Regions from separate parts of the Homo sapiens genome. Here all the other regions are linked to region 3. The links are contacts of gene promoters, found by promoter capture Hi-C in human tissues and cell types (Jung and others, 2019). All regions are on one chromosome and are shown on one strand. The core of a region is centred on a gene start or on the middle of the fragment in contact, and the rest is flanking DNA. Distances in the headings are between cores, read along the strand shown. Region 1 overlaps ADCY9 (adenylate cyclase 9). Region 2 has its middle 7.4 kb from the start of ADCY9. Region 3 holds the start of CREBBP (CREB binding lysine acetyltransferase). Region 4 overlaps TRAP1 (TNF receptor associated protein 1).

What was found. Contacts are between HindIII fragments. The study calls those that stand out against the background at their distance.
Region 1: a contact is called between a fragment that was not itself captured here and the fragment with the promoter of CREBBP in region 3, in 2 of the 25 tissues and cell types used here (IMR-90 fibroblasts and aorta).
Region 2: a fragment that was not itself captured here is called in contact with the fragment with the promoter of CREBBP in region 3 in 1 of the 25 tissues and cell types used here (dorsolateral prefrontal cortex).
Region 4: a fragment that was not itself captured here is called in contact with the fragment with the promoter of CREBBP in region 3 in 3 of the 25 tissues and cell types used here (aorta, bladder and lymphoblastoid cells).

The regions. Positions count from the first base shown.
Region 1 is chr16:4,102,152-4,105,452 of GRCh38, reverse strand. All of the region lies in intron 2 of ADCY9 (adenylate cyclase 9), which reads left to right. Among named protein-coding and RNA genes, the nearest start is that of ADCY9, 13 kb to the left of the region's middle. The HindIII fragment of the contact is 4,527 bases long and covers 1-3,301 here.
Region 2 is chr16:4,122,205-4,125,424 of GRCh38, reverse strand. No RefSeq gene overlaps it. Among named protein-coding and RNA genes, the nearest start is that of ADCY9, 7.4 kb to the right of the region's middle. The HindIII fragment of the contact is 7,589 bases long and covers 1-3,220 here.
Region 3 is chr16:3,879,444-3,882,461 of GRCh38, reverse strand. CREBBP (CREB binding lysine acetyltransferase) reads left to right here and starts at 1,749. Exons shown (of 31, transcript NM_004380.3): 1 at 1,749-2,630. The coding sequence starts at 2,546. RefSeq lists silencers at 1,274-1,823, 1,844-1,893, 2,231-2,540, 2,581-2,630, 2,711-2,760 and an enhancer at 1,494-2,070. The HindIII fragment of the contact is 21,091 bases long and covers 1-3,018 here.
Region 4 is chr16:3,675,177-3,678,214 of GRCh38, reverse strand. TRAP1 (TNF receptor associated protein 1) reads left to right here. Exons shown (of 18, transcript NM_016292.3): 6 at 557-717; 7 at 2,070-2,179; 8 at 2,818-2,891. It also overlaps the pseudogene LOC124903630. Among named protein-coding and RNA genes, the nearest start is that of DNASE1, 22 kb to the right of the region's middle. The HindIII fragment of the contact is 6,931 bases long and covers 1-3,038 here.

The sequences.
Region 1 (3,301 bases), core at 312-2,811, 220 kb before region 3:
TGATCTGCCCGCCTCAGCCTCTCAAAGTGCTGGGATTATAGGTGTGAGCCACCATGCCCGGCCTAATTTTAAAAATTATTTGTAGAGATGACGTCTCCCTATGTTTCCCAGGCTTATGTGCATTATTTATATAGGTTGTCTATTGATATTTACAGTATTAGAAATTGAAACAAACTGAGAAGCTTAAAAATCTTTTCTAAATTTATTTCAAAATAGTAATTCATTTCACCCATTGCATGTTAATGTAAGTAACATTTTTATAAAAGTAACTATATTTTGTAAAATGAAAAAATTTGATGAGAAGGGTGGCACTGCCATACATTTTTGCAAATCTCTTTAATGTCTGGATTAATAAACGGTTGAAGTTTTTTGTTTTTTTTTTGGTGGATTTTTTTCCCTCTTGTTGCCCACATTGGAGTGCAGTGGCACGATCTCGGCTTACTGCAACCTCTGCCTCCTGGGTTCAAGCGATTCTCCTGCCTCAGCCTCTCGAGTAGCTGGGATTACAGGCACGCACCACCACACCCGGCTAATTTTTTGTATTTTTAGTAGAAACAGGGTTTCAGCATGTTAGCCACTGCGCCCGACCCACGGCTGAGGTTTTTTGAGTGATAAAATGTACACAACAGAAATCTACCGTGTTAAAACACTTTTAAGTGTGTTCGCTGAATTTTCTTAACCGCTTTGGCATTCAATTTGTTGCAATATGTTGAAAAATGTGTAGAAAATCTGGCTTTAGTTGGAAGAGCATTTTCATAGCCTTTTTATGTGATTCTGGATATTTTTCTTTGATTCTGTAGAAACATTCAACAAGTGAGTAGTAGTTTCTTTTTCTTTTTCTGAGATGGGGTCCTACTCTGTCACCCAGGCTGGAGTGCAGTGGTGCTACCATAGCTCACTCCAGCCTTGACCTCCTGGGCTCAAGTGATCCTTCTGCCTTGGCCTACCAAGTAGCTGGGACTACAGGCATGCACCACCACACCCCGCTGATTTTTTATTTTGAGTGGTAGTTTCTTAAATGTTAGTTGCAATATGGAATCTGAAATTTTATTATCTTTTTTTGTACACTATTATATTAAATGCTGTTGGGTTTTTACCCAGGTGTGATTTTATAACGTCATGCACTAGTCATTTGGAAAATATTGGTCTCTTGAATGATGCAGCTCTTCCACATGTTGACGTCAGTAAAGTCTAATAGTCTGAAGATGTTGAGTTCATCACAGTGGCTGATGTAAGTTTTCCAAAACTCTACTTGAAAACTGGAATTTTTTATCATTGGCGGCAAATACTGTCAGTTATTTTCCTTGAAGCGACAGACTCATTCATATTCCCAGGAATGGTCTGCCCGTACTCAAGCCTGAACGACCGTGGTTTGTCTGTAGGTCACGTGTAAATAATGTGCTACCAAAAAGGTGGCCAGTTCAGCTTGCAATCCAAACAGCTGCACAGCTGCTTTTCTCCAGGACCGCTGTGCTTTGATGGGCAGCAGCGTCGTCGTAGGCGTGCTTCTCATTTCATCACTCAGACTATTCAGAAGACACCTACTCAAGCTTGCGATTTAACCAATCATTCATGTTGACAGCTTCATCTGGGACATTCTTTTTTTTCTTTTTTCTGTTTTTGTGACAGAGTCTCGCTCTGTCGCCCGGGCTGGAGTGCAGTGGTGTGATCTTGGCTCACTGCAACCTCCGCCTCCTGGGTTCAAGTGATTCTCCTGCCTCAGCCTCCCAAGTAGCTGGGATTTACAGATGTGTGCCACCACGCCCGGCTAATTTTTGTCTTTATGGTAGAGACGGGGTTTCGCCATATTGGCCAGGCTGGTCTTGAACTCCTGACCTCAGGTGATCTCCCTACCTCGGCCTCACAAAATGCTGGGATTACAGGCGTGAGCCACTATGCCCGGCCCATCAGGGACATTCTTAAGTGAAGCTGTCTGCCTTTCCTTTCGTAAGTGTGGGGTAGTGAAGGACAAGCTGAGGGCTAGTGCAGTTTGGTTTCCCTGCATCGGGACCTGCTCAGGCACTAGCAGTTTCACCCATGGCTTCTTCTGCACTGTCACTGCAAGTGTCAACACTGAAGAAGGCAAATGCTGTCTTAGTGTCATTGTGCAAATAGTTTAGACTCCACAGATGCCTTGCAAAGGCCTCAAGGACCTCTAGGGATCTGCGGATCACACTTTGAGTACTGCTTCGCTAGCTGGGCTGCAAGATGGGAAGACTGAGGGTTTTGTATGTGCCACCCAAACACGCATTCTCATGTGTGTGAAACAACGCCAATTGGAGTTGTCACACCCATTACATATTGCCTGTGGAAATAGCAAGTGACCTTAGTTCATACATTGACCTTTTCTTACAAAATCCTTAAAAATCTTTTGTGATTCTGGTAAATCTTTGTTGCTCATGTTCAAAGTGTGTGATAAAGACCATCAACTTCGAGCTGGCCATGGCTCGTGCCTGTAATACCAGCGCTTTGGGAGGCCGAGGTGGGTGGATCACCTGAGGTCAAGAGTTGGAGACCAGCCTGGCCAACACGGTGAAGCTCCGTCTCTCCTAAAAATACTATAATTAGCCAGGCGTGGTGGTGGGCACCTGTAATCCCAGCTACTCAGGAGGTTGAGGCAGGAGAATCACTTGAACCTGGGAGGCGGAGGCTGCAGTGAGCCGAGATGGCACCACTGCATTCCAGCCTGGGCGACAGAGCGAGACTCTGCCTCAAAAAACAAACACATGGCTGGGCGCAGTGAGTCACGCCTGTAATCCCAGTACTTTGGGAGGCCGAGGCGGGCGGATCACCTGAGGTCGGGAGTTCGAGACCAGCCTGACCAACATGGAGAAACCCCGTCTCTACTAAAAACACAAAATTAGCCAGGCATGGTGGCACATGCCTGTGGTCCCAGCTACTCGGGCGGCTGAGGTAGGAGAATTGCTTGAATCCAGGAGGCGGAGGTTGCGGTGAGCTGAGATCATGCCACTGCTCTCTAGCCTGGGCAACAAGAGCGAAACTCCATCTCAAAAACAAACAAACAAACAAAGAAACAACCATCAACTTTGTTTCTGTAAATTTTTTTTGGAAGGGCTCACCCTTGAATGGTTGGGTGCTTGGATTTTGATTTCTGATACATTCGGGCTTAATTCTCGGTTGTATGGTTTCCTAACTGTGGGACTTTGGGCAAGCTACCTAGGGGCGCTGCAATTTATAGGAATGATGGTGTCTCTGTCAGAGGGTCGTTGGGAGAATCAACTGGGATAATGCAAGAAAAGCACTTATTTGCATAGTGACTCGATGGTGGACAGCCATTCCA
Region 2 (3,220 bases), core at 611-3,110, 240 kb before region 3:
AGGGCAAAGGGGTCAAATGGTGCCCTTGCAGAAAGTTGGTAGTAACTCCTACCTGCCTTACGGATTCGTTTCTGTACTTACATTTGAGCATGGATGTGTCAGATATTCTGGGAAAGCACTGCACATGCAATAATGAAGCCACACTAATGAAGACCTGGCCCTGGAGAAGCTGGGAAGCCATCCAGCTTCCACCTCCTGCCCCTGCTCACCTCCTCCCTGGAACCCACTACATGCTGGGAAGAGAGAACGCTTCTCTCAGACAGACCAGAGTGTTGAAGTAAGGTCCATTAACCACACGCTCCTCGGGGCTCAATTCACAGCATAGACGCCCAGTGATTTATTCCAGCAGTGTGTGTGTCTCTCAGCAACACTATAAATTGCCAAAGAAGAGCCATGCCTCACCACCCCAAGATGGGGAGGGACCCAGAGAGAATACAGAATGCGGATCCACTGTCTCCTCCTCCTGGATAGCTGCTCATGGCTGTGTCTGAGAGTACGTGGGTGCTGTTCCAAATGAAAACATGATTCCTAGAAAACCGTAAGCTTATGGCTACCGAGAGCAATAAGACTTTTATTAGTTATTGATTTTATTTGTATTCTTTGAGACAAGGTCTCGCTCTGTCACCCAGGCTGGAGTGCAGTGATGCAATCACAGCTCACTGTAGCCTCTACCTCCCGGGCTCAAGCGATCCTCCTACCTCAGCCTCCTGAGCAGCTGAGACTGCAGGCATATGCCACCATGACCAGGTGATTTTTAAATTTTTTGTAGAGACAGGATCTCATCATGTTGCCCAGGCTGGTCTGGAATTCCTGGGATCAAGCAATCCTCCTGCCTCGGCCTCCCAAAGTGTTGGGATTACAGGCATGAGCCACCATGCCTGGCTTCTCCTGGAGTTTTTCTGTTTGAAAAAAAATTATTATCTATTGGCATTGCGATCATATTTGTCTGGCTCACAAACTTATTTTATGTGTTTTTGAGATGGGGTCTCCCTTTGTCACCAAGGCTGGAGTGCAGAGGTGTGATCTCGGCTCACTGCAGCCTTCGCCTCCTAGGTTCAAGTAATTATCCTGCCTCAGCCTCCTGAGTAGCTGGGATTACAGGTGTGCACCACCACGCCCCCCTAATTTTTGTATTTTTAGTTATTTTTAGGAGACATGGGGGTTTCATCATGTTGGCCAGGTTGGTCTTGAACTAACGACCTCAGGCGATCTGCCCTCCTCGGCCTCCCAAAGTGCTGAGATTACAGGCATGAGCCACCGCCCACAGCCGGCAAACTTATTTTTGAGTAATGTTAATGGTATTTTGGTACTACCCCGTGGCTAAAATAAACACGCATCTTCCTAACAAGCCTGCAAGTTTCTCCCATGCTGGCTACAGAAGCATGCTTCCGAGGAAGTTCAGGTTCATCATGGTAGATCCAGCCCCATCTGCAAGTGACTGCCATAGGACTTCAGGGTAAGGGTTGGCAGCACGCCAATAGGATTGAAACTATCCCTACGGATGGTTTGCTGAGCGAAGGTTTTGATACTGAAGGCTGAGACTTCCAGCCTTCTGCCCCTCTCAGCTGAGTGGCAGCAAGCCTGAAGGGTCTTCTCTGGAAAACCTGACTAATTAATCCAAGGAAAAATACCAGCAGATGGTGACACGGGGGTGGGATCCCCGACAAAATGACCTGGCCTGATTATTCTAAACAACACGTGATTACGAGAATCACCCTGGGAGATTTACATGCCTGTCTGCGCCCCTTCCCCATCCCCAGATGGTTGCATCTAGGTGTCATCCTCATTCTCCACACTCTGTTTGAAACCTGCTTTTTCTTGCCGGAGCTTCTCCCTGTAGCTCTCTGTAGTTCTGAAGTTGCGCTGCGCTGTGTCTTGGTGTGGGTCTGTTTCCAGTCATCGTGTTGGCCACTTGCTGGTCCTTTTCAATCACATTCTTCATTTAGGAAAACGTTTCTTGAATGGTTGCTCAGCAGTTTCTCCCTTCTGTGTTCTCTCTTCTTTCTGAAACCCTTTATTATTTGGATGCTGGGTTTCTTGGGCTGTTCTTCTCATTTTCTTGTAGAGACAAGAAAATTCCATTACTCCCTTTTTTTTTTTTTTTGAGCCAGAGTCTTGCTCTGTTGCCCAGGCTGGAGTGCAGTAGTGCAATCTCAGTTCATTGCAATCTCCGCCTCCCGGGCTCAAGTGATTCTCCTGCCTCAGCCTCCCTAGTAGCTGAGATTACGGGTGCCGACCACCACGCCTGGCTAATTTTTATCTTTTTAGTAGAGATGGGGTTTCTCCATGTTGGCCAGGCTGCTCTCAGACTCTTGACTTGAGATGATCCACCCGCCTCGGCCTCCCAAAGTGCTGGGATTACAGGCGTGAGCCACTGTGCCTGGCCCCATCTCTCTTATTTCGCTTTCTCATGGTTCTAGAGGCCAGAAGTGTGAAATCAAAGTGTCCGTGGAGCCACGCTTCTTTTGAAGGTTCTAGGGCAGGATCCTGCCTTGCCTCTGTCAGCCTCTGGAGTCTCCCAGGACCGCTTGGGGTTCCGTGGCTGGTGGCTGCATCACTCTTATCTCTGCCTCTGTCTTTATATGTCTTCTGTCTTGTCTTATCTGTCTTCTCCTCCCCTGCATGTCTCTGTGTCTTTTCCTCTTCTTTTTCTTTTTTTAACTTTAATTTTTTTTTTTTTTTTTGAGACGGAGTCTCACTCTGTTCCCCAGGCTGGAGTGCAGTGGCGGGATCTCAGCTCACTGCAATCACCACTTCCCGGGTTCACACCATTCTCCTGCCTCAGCCTCTTAAGTAGCTGGGACTACAGGCGCCTGCCACCATGCTCTGCTAATTTTTTTGTATTTTTAGTAGAGATGGGTTTCACCGTGTTAGCCAGGATGGTCTCGATCTCCTGACCTCGTGATCCAGCCGCCCTGGCCTCCTAAAGTGCCGGGATTACAGGCGTGAGCCACCGCGCTGGCCTTAACTTTAATTTTTTATTTTGAGACAGGGTGCCCAGGCTGGAATACAGTGGCGGAATCACAACTCACTGCAGCCTTGAACTCCTGGGGTTAAGCGATCTTCCCACCTGGACCTTCTCAGTAGCTAGGACCACAGGTGCGTGCCACCACACCTAGCTAATTTTTAAAAAACATTTTTGGGCTGGGTGCAGTGGCTCATACCTGTAATTCCAGCACTCTGGGAGGCCAAGGCAGGTGGATTGCTTTAATCCAGGAGT
Region 3 (3,018 bases), core at 500-2,999:
GGCCAAGTGGGTGTAGGATGATGATGGTGAAGTGAGCCATGTAAAGTAGAAGAGACAGATTCAAGAGCGGTATCACGGCCCAAGATTTTGAGCAGTACAGGTAAACAGAGAAAAGCAGAACGATCACTCAATCTTGACACTCAAGGACAGTCACCATATGTACATACACCTATGTTTTTAAGAGAATTCATACGTGTTCTTTTTTAAAGAAAGACTATGTAGTGTTTTCTTTTTCTATGTCTGGGATTTTGTTTTGTTTTGTTTTGTTTTTGAGACGGAGTTTCACTCTTGTCGCCCAGGATGGAGTGCAATGGCGAGATCCCGGCTTACTGGCCTCCCCAGTTCAAGTGATTCTCGCATCTCAGCCTCCCGAGTAGCTGGGATTACAGGCGCACGCCGCCACGCCCAGCTAATGTTTGTATTTTTGGTAGAGATGGGGTTTCACCATGTTGGCCAGGCTGGTCTTGAACTCCTGACCTCAGGTGATCTGCCACCGCGCCTGGCCAGGGAGTTGTTTTAAACAGATTTTCTCCCTCTCTTTTCGGGATGTTAACTCTGGTGCTGCGTGGGGAGCAACGTGGAGAGCAAAGAACACTTAAGTGAGTAGCTGCCACCATAGCCACCGGGACAGTGCGGGAGGAGCAGTCTCCCAGGTAAAGACCGTGGGTAGAGGGGCGCGTGGCGGGTGAGAGGGAGGAGTCCGCGCTGACTCACGGGTTTCTGGCTTAGGAAACAGTGGAGCTGCTGATACCTTTATGAGGAAGCCGGGCAAGTTTGGAGGGGCAGATAACTAACTGGGATGGGAACACCTCGGGTATTCGTAGAAGTGTCCCGCGGGCTGTGGTCTCGCGTGGGGGACTCCCCAGGCCCGCACCCCTGTCTGGGGCACCTGCGAGGCGCCAGGCAAGTTGCCTGGGGCGGGGAGTGCGGCCTGAGCGTCCAGGCTTAAGCCCCGATGCGCGGGCCCTTCTCCGCCCAGGCCGGCCCTCGCCACCCCGCTCTCACAGGTGAGGGTGTCTGCCCTGCCGCCTTGGGATGCGAACAGGCGTGAGGCCCCCTCACTCCCTAGTGTCACGAGGTAGGGCGGGACCCGAATCCCGGCCCTGCCACTTCCTGCCTCGACCACTTTGGAGCAGTTGCTCGCCCCCCGCCTCAGTTTCCCCATCCGCCCACCTCGTCGGCAGGACCCAAGGGCGGTCTGTAACCTGCAGAGGCCATTCCACTTCCCTGGCCGGCGGCGAAGGCTAGTGGCGCGGCCTGGGCTGGGGTCGCCCCGACCGTTCCCGACCGACGCCACCTAGGAGGGTCTGGGGAAGGGGACGCGAGGAGCTGGGAACACGCAGCGCCGCCCCAGCGGGACGGGCGGGCCCGGGCTGGCGTCGAATCCGCGCCCGAGAGCCCAGCCCGCGGCCAGGCCGCCGCTCCCGGAGCCCGCTGGGGCCCGGAGCCCCGGCCCTCTACGCCTGGTCGCCATCAGAACAAAAGCTGTGGCTCAGCCCGGAGCCCAGGCGCCCCGCAGGCCTGGCCCGCGCCGGGCCGCCAGCTTCCCTACGCTTGGCGGCCGCGCCTTCAGCCCTTCGGCCCGAGCACGCTCGGCTCTTTCCGCCACGGCCGGCGCAGGTGGAGGGGGCGGGGCGGGGGCCGTGCGTGGTGACGCCGCGGGGGGGTGACGCACCGGCGTGCCCCGCCCCCACCCCCTCCCCGTTCAGGCTCTGGAAAGAGAAGAAAAAAAACTTTCTTTTTTTTTTAATTGAGGAATCAACAGCCGCCATCTTGTCGCGGACCCGACCGGGGCTTCGAGCGCGATCTACTCGGCCCCGCCGGTCCCGGGCCCCACAACCGCCCGCGCACCCCGCTCCGCCCGGCCGGCCCGCTCCGCCCGGCCCTCGGCGCCCGCCCCGGCGGCCCCGCTCGCCTCTCGGCTCGGCCTCCCGGAGCCCGGCGGCGGCGGCGGCGGCAGCGGCGGCGGCGGCGGCGGAACGGGGGGTGGGGGGGCCGCGGCGGCGGCGGCGACCCCGCTCGGCGCATTGTTTTTCCTCACGGCGGCGGCGGCGGCGGGCCGCGGGCCGGGAGCGGAGCCCGGAGCCCCCTCGTCGTCGGGCCGCGAGCGAATTCATTAAGTGGGGCGCGGGGGGGGAGCGAGGCGGCGGCGGCGGCGGCACCATGTTCTCGGGGACTGCCTGAGCCGCCCGGCCGGGCGCCGTCGCTGCCAGCCGGGCCCGGGGGGGCGGCCGGGCCGCCGGGGCGCCCCCACCGCGGAGTGTCGCGCTCGGGAGGCGGGCAGGGGATGAGGGGGCCGCGGCCGGCGGCGGCGGCGGCGGCCGGGGGCGGGCGGTGAGCGCTGCGGGGCGCTGTTGCTGTGGCTGAGATTTGGCCGCCGCCTCCCCCACCCGGCCTGCGCCCTCCCTCTCCCTCGGCGCCCGCCCGCCCGCTCGCGGCCCGCGCTCGCTCCTCTCCCTCGCAGCCGGCAGGGCCCCCGACCCCCGTCCGGGCCCTCGCCGGCCCGGCCGCCCGTGCCCGGGGCTGTTTTCGCGAGCAGGTGAAAATGGCTGAGAACTTGCTGGACGGACCGCCCAACCCCAAAAGAGCCAAACTCAGCTCGCCCGGTTTCTCGGCGAATGACAGCACAGGTGAGGAGGGGGTCCGGGGCGGCGGGGGCCCGGGGCGCGCTGTCACCCCCACCTGAAAGAGAGCGTCCGGGGGTCGTGGTCGCGGATACCGATCGAGCCGGGAGCTCGGAGCAGGCCCCGCAGCCCGTTCCCCTCGCCCCGCGCGGGAGGGTGGAAGTTCGTCGCAGGACTGTCACTGGGCCCGAGTTGGTCAGCACACGCCCGGTGCACTCGGCCTCCCCGCACCCGATCAGCCCTCCTCGCGGGGACCCTAGTGGCACTCCAGGAGGGAAGAAGTAAAGTGCAGCGTGTGGGTTTGTTTGGTAATGTCCTACGCATCCATCCGCGGCCGTGTCCACACGCGTGGCCGTCCAGAGGAATGACAGCGGAGGGTACCTTTGATGCTTAG
Region 4 (3,038 bases), core at 1-2,500, 200 kb after region 3:
CATCGGACAACGTGGGCCAGGGCAGTGGGCGTGTGTATTTTACTTGACTTTGGCCTTAGGACCTTTGGCAGTATTATAGTAGAAAAATGAAGTGCTGTGCGGTGCTTACAGACGCATGCGCGTGATTTCTACTCTTTTTCCCACAAAGTGTAGAGTCCAGGAGACTTGAATATGGAAGCCAGTTTGGAGCCTCTCCTCACTCCTGGCCTTCCTATGGAAGGAGCTTATTCAAGGGAAAGAGCTTATTCAAGCTGCTCTTTCCCCACCCCCAGGTGTGACCCACAGGCCTCCACCTGTCTGGGACAGGCAGGACTGTGAGCTTTGGGAATCAAATGGAAAACACACTTGTCCCACTGCTGCCAGCTGGTTGTCCTAGGGCTAATGTGTCACCTCTCTGTGACTTAGCTCTTCACGTGTAGAATGGGGTGGAAAAGTACTCGGTGTGGCTGTTTTCAGGATGAAGGGGTCTTAGCGGTGCTCGCAGAAGAGCCACGGTGTTGGGAGTGTCTGCTCTCTGGAGGGGAGGCTGCCTCACTAACTGGCCTCTGCCCCACAGGCCTTCCTGGATGCTCTGCAGAACCAGGCTGAGGCCAGCAGCAAGATCATCGGCCAGTTTGGAGTGGGTTTCTACTCAGCTTTCATGGTGGCTGACAGAGTGGAGGTCTATTCCCGCTCGGCAGCCCCGGGGAGCCTGGGTTACCAGTGGCTTTCAGATGGGTGAGTGACGAATGTCGCCTGACAGGCAGCTCAAAGCTGAGCTGGAGCCCTTAGCATGGAGTTTGGAAAGGGATGGACTCAGAAAACGTACACAGGCATTTTCTGGGCTTTTTATATGAAATCTGACTCTCCCATTTTGGGGAGTTAGTGACTTTTGTGGCTCCAGGTGGCCTATGGCACCTGTCTGGTCCCATGTGGTTGGTCACCACCACTGCGCTCGGGAAGGCAGGTCCGGCCCGCGCTGAGCTCCTTTCTCAGTGGCTGAGCTGCAGGACTGGCCTGTCGCCTGGTGGACACTATGCAGCCTCCTGTGACCGACCTTCTGCAAGAGCTCATTCTGCTTCCTCCCAGCCCTGGCATTTCCTGGCTTTGTCTCCCCAGCCCACTTCTGCCTCTATAGGGTGAGGAGCCTGCTGGGGGCTTTTTTTTTTTTTTTTTCCTTTGGGACGGAGTTTTACTCTTGTTGCCTAGGCTGGAGTGCAATGGCACAATCTTGGCTCACTGCCACCTCCGCCTCCCAGGTTCAAGCAATTGGCCTGCCTCAGCCTCCTGAGTAGCTGGGACTACAGGCGCATGCCACCACGCCCAGCTAATTTTGTATTTTTAGTAGAGACAGGGTTTCTCCATGTTGGTCAGACTGGTCTCGAACCCCGACCTCAGGTGATCTGCCCGTCTTGGCCTCCCAAAGTGCTGGGATTATAGACGTGAGCCACCACGCCTGGCTCCGAGGGCTTTTTAGCAGGTGAGCCGCTTCCAGCCAGCCGAGGCGTCCTCCCTCCGTGATGCCATTTCTGCTCCACAGTGTGTGCACTGTGCTCAGCTTGACTCCCCACTCTCCCAAAACTAACATTCCTGTTTAATTCCATGGGAGCGGGGCTCAGAGTAAACTTAGGCCAAGGCATCAACATGGCCCTGCCGGGGGATTCCCCCCTCCTGTGCTTCGGAGATGGTTTTCTGCTCTTCTTAGGGGGCGCCTGTCCCCCTGGCCTTTGTTTTTGCCCCTGGGCATCTGGCACCCGATTTGGAGCTGGGCCAGTCCCCCACAGTGCCCCAGGCCTGCTTTTGGGGTAAGCCCAGAAGCTTCTTCGAAGCCCAGGGTCGGTGGAGGACCCCCGCCCCCCCGCCCCCCGCCCGAGGGAACCAGGAGAACTCTGCCGCCTGCGACAGGCTCATCGTTCCTGATGGGCATGTGATGGCCTGAGTGGTGCGCTGGGGTCAGAAATGGGGCATTTGAGGTGTGTTGTGTGTTGTTTGGGCTCTGCCTATGAAACCCTCGGGAACCGCTGGAGTCCCATGCAGGGTATGTCCCAGTGTCACATCCACCTGGCTTTTCCTTTCTTTGCCTGCCTTAGTTCTGGAGTGTTTGAAATCGCCGAAGCTTCGGGAGTTAGAACCGGGACAAAAATCATCATCCACCTGAAATCCGACTGCAAGGAGTTTTCCAGCGAGGCCCGGGTGCGAGGTGAGCGGGAGCCCGGGCCCAGGCTCACTCTGGGATCCATGTGTGGCCTGGAGGCCACCAGGTCAGCAGGCATTTTCCCTGGTTCTACCTGCACGTAGGGTGCACAGGCAGAGCCGTGAAGGGCCGAGCCGCTGCGGGACTGGGAGGGGGGCTGCCCGCCAGGGCTGCGTAGCATCGAGCTCCTGCTGGGACTGGGAGGAAGCTGGCCTGGCTGAGGCGGACCTCCTCCTCCTTCCTCTGCGTGGCCCTTGGCCTTTAGTGCACCTGGGGGTTTGGCGCAGTCCTGTCCCAGGATGTGGGCGTGGCCTTCCCTCTTTGTGTCCTGCTGGACACTCAGGGAGGCCCTGAGTACCCCCAGGAGTCAGCCCAGAAAGCCATGTTCCAGCCACAAGCTGACATTGCAGTCTCGCAGCAGCCGGGGCCTCCACAGCTCTGGTTCTCACGTGGGCTCCGCTGCTGCCCCCGTGAGACTGGGGGGAGGACAGGTGTCCCCACTGTGCCCTGTTTCTGTACCTGTGAAGTGTACACAGCATGGAGGACCCTTCCCAGCAGGCTGGCGCTCATCCTGGAGCTGCTGCAAAGCTTGCGTTTCCACAAGCATTGTAGATGCAGTGTGGTTTTTCTTTTGTCCCTTCCAGATGTGGTAACGAAGTACAGCAACTTCGTCAGCTTCCCCTTGTACTTGAATGGAAGGCGGATGAACACCTTGCAGGTGAGCCCTGAGTTCCTCTAGGGACTGGTCAAACATGGAGACAAATCTGTACGTTTCAGGGCAGCGGAGAAGAGATGAGCCCAGGGGATGCGGCCCAGAGTCACAGGGCGAGCTGCTCTGTGGAGATGAGACCTGGGTGTGGGGATG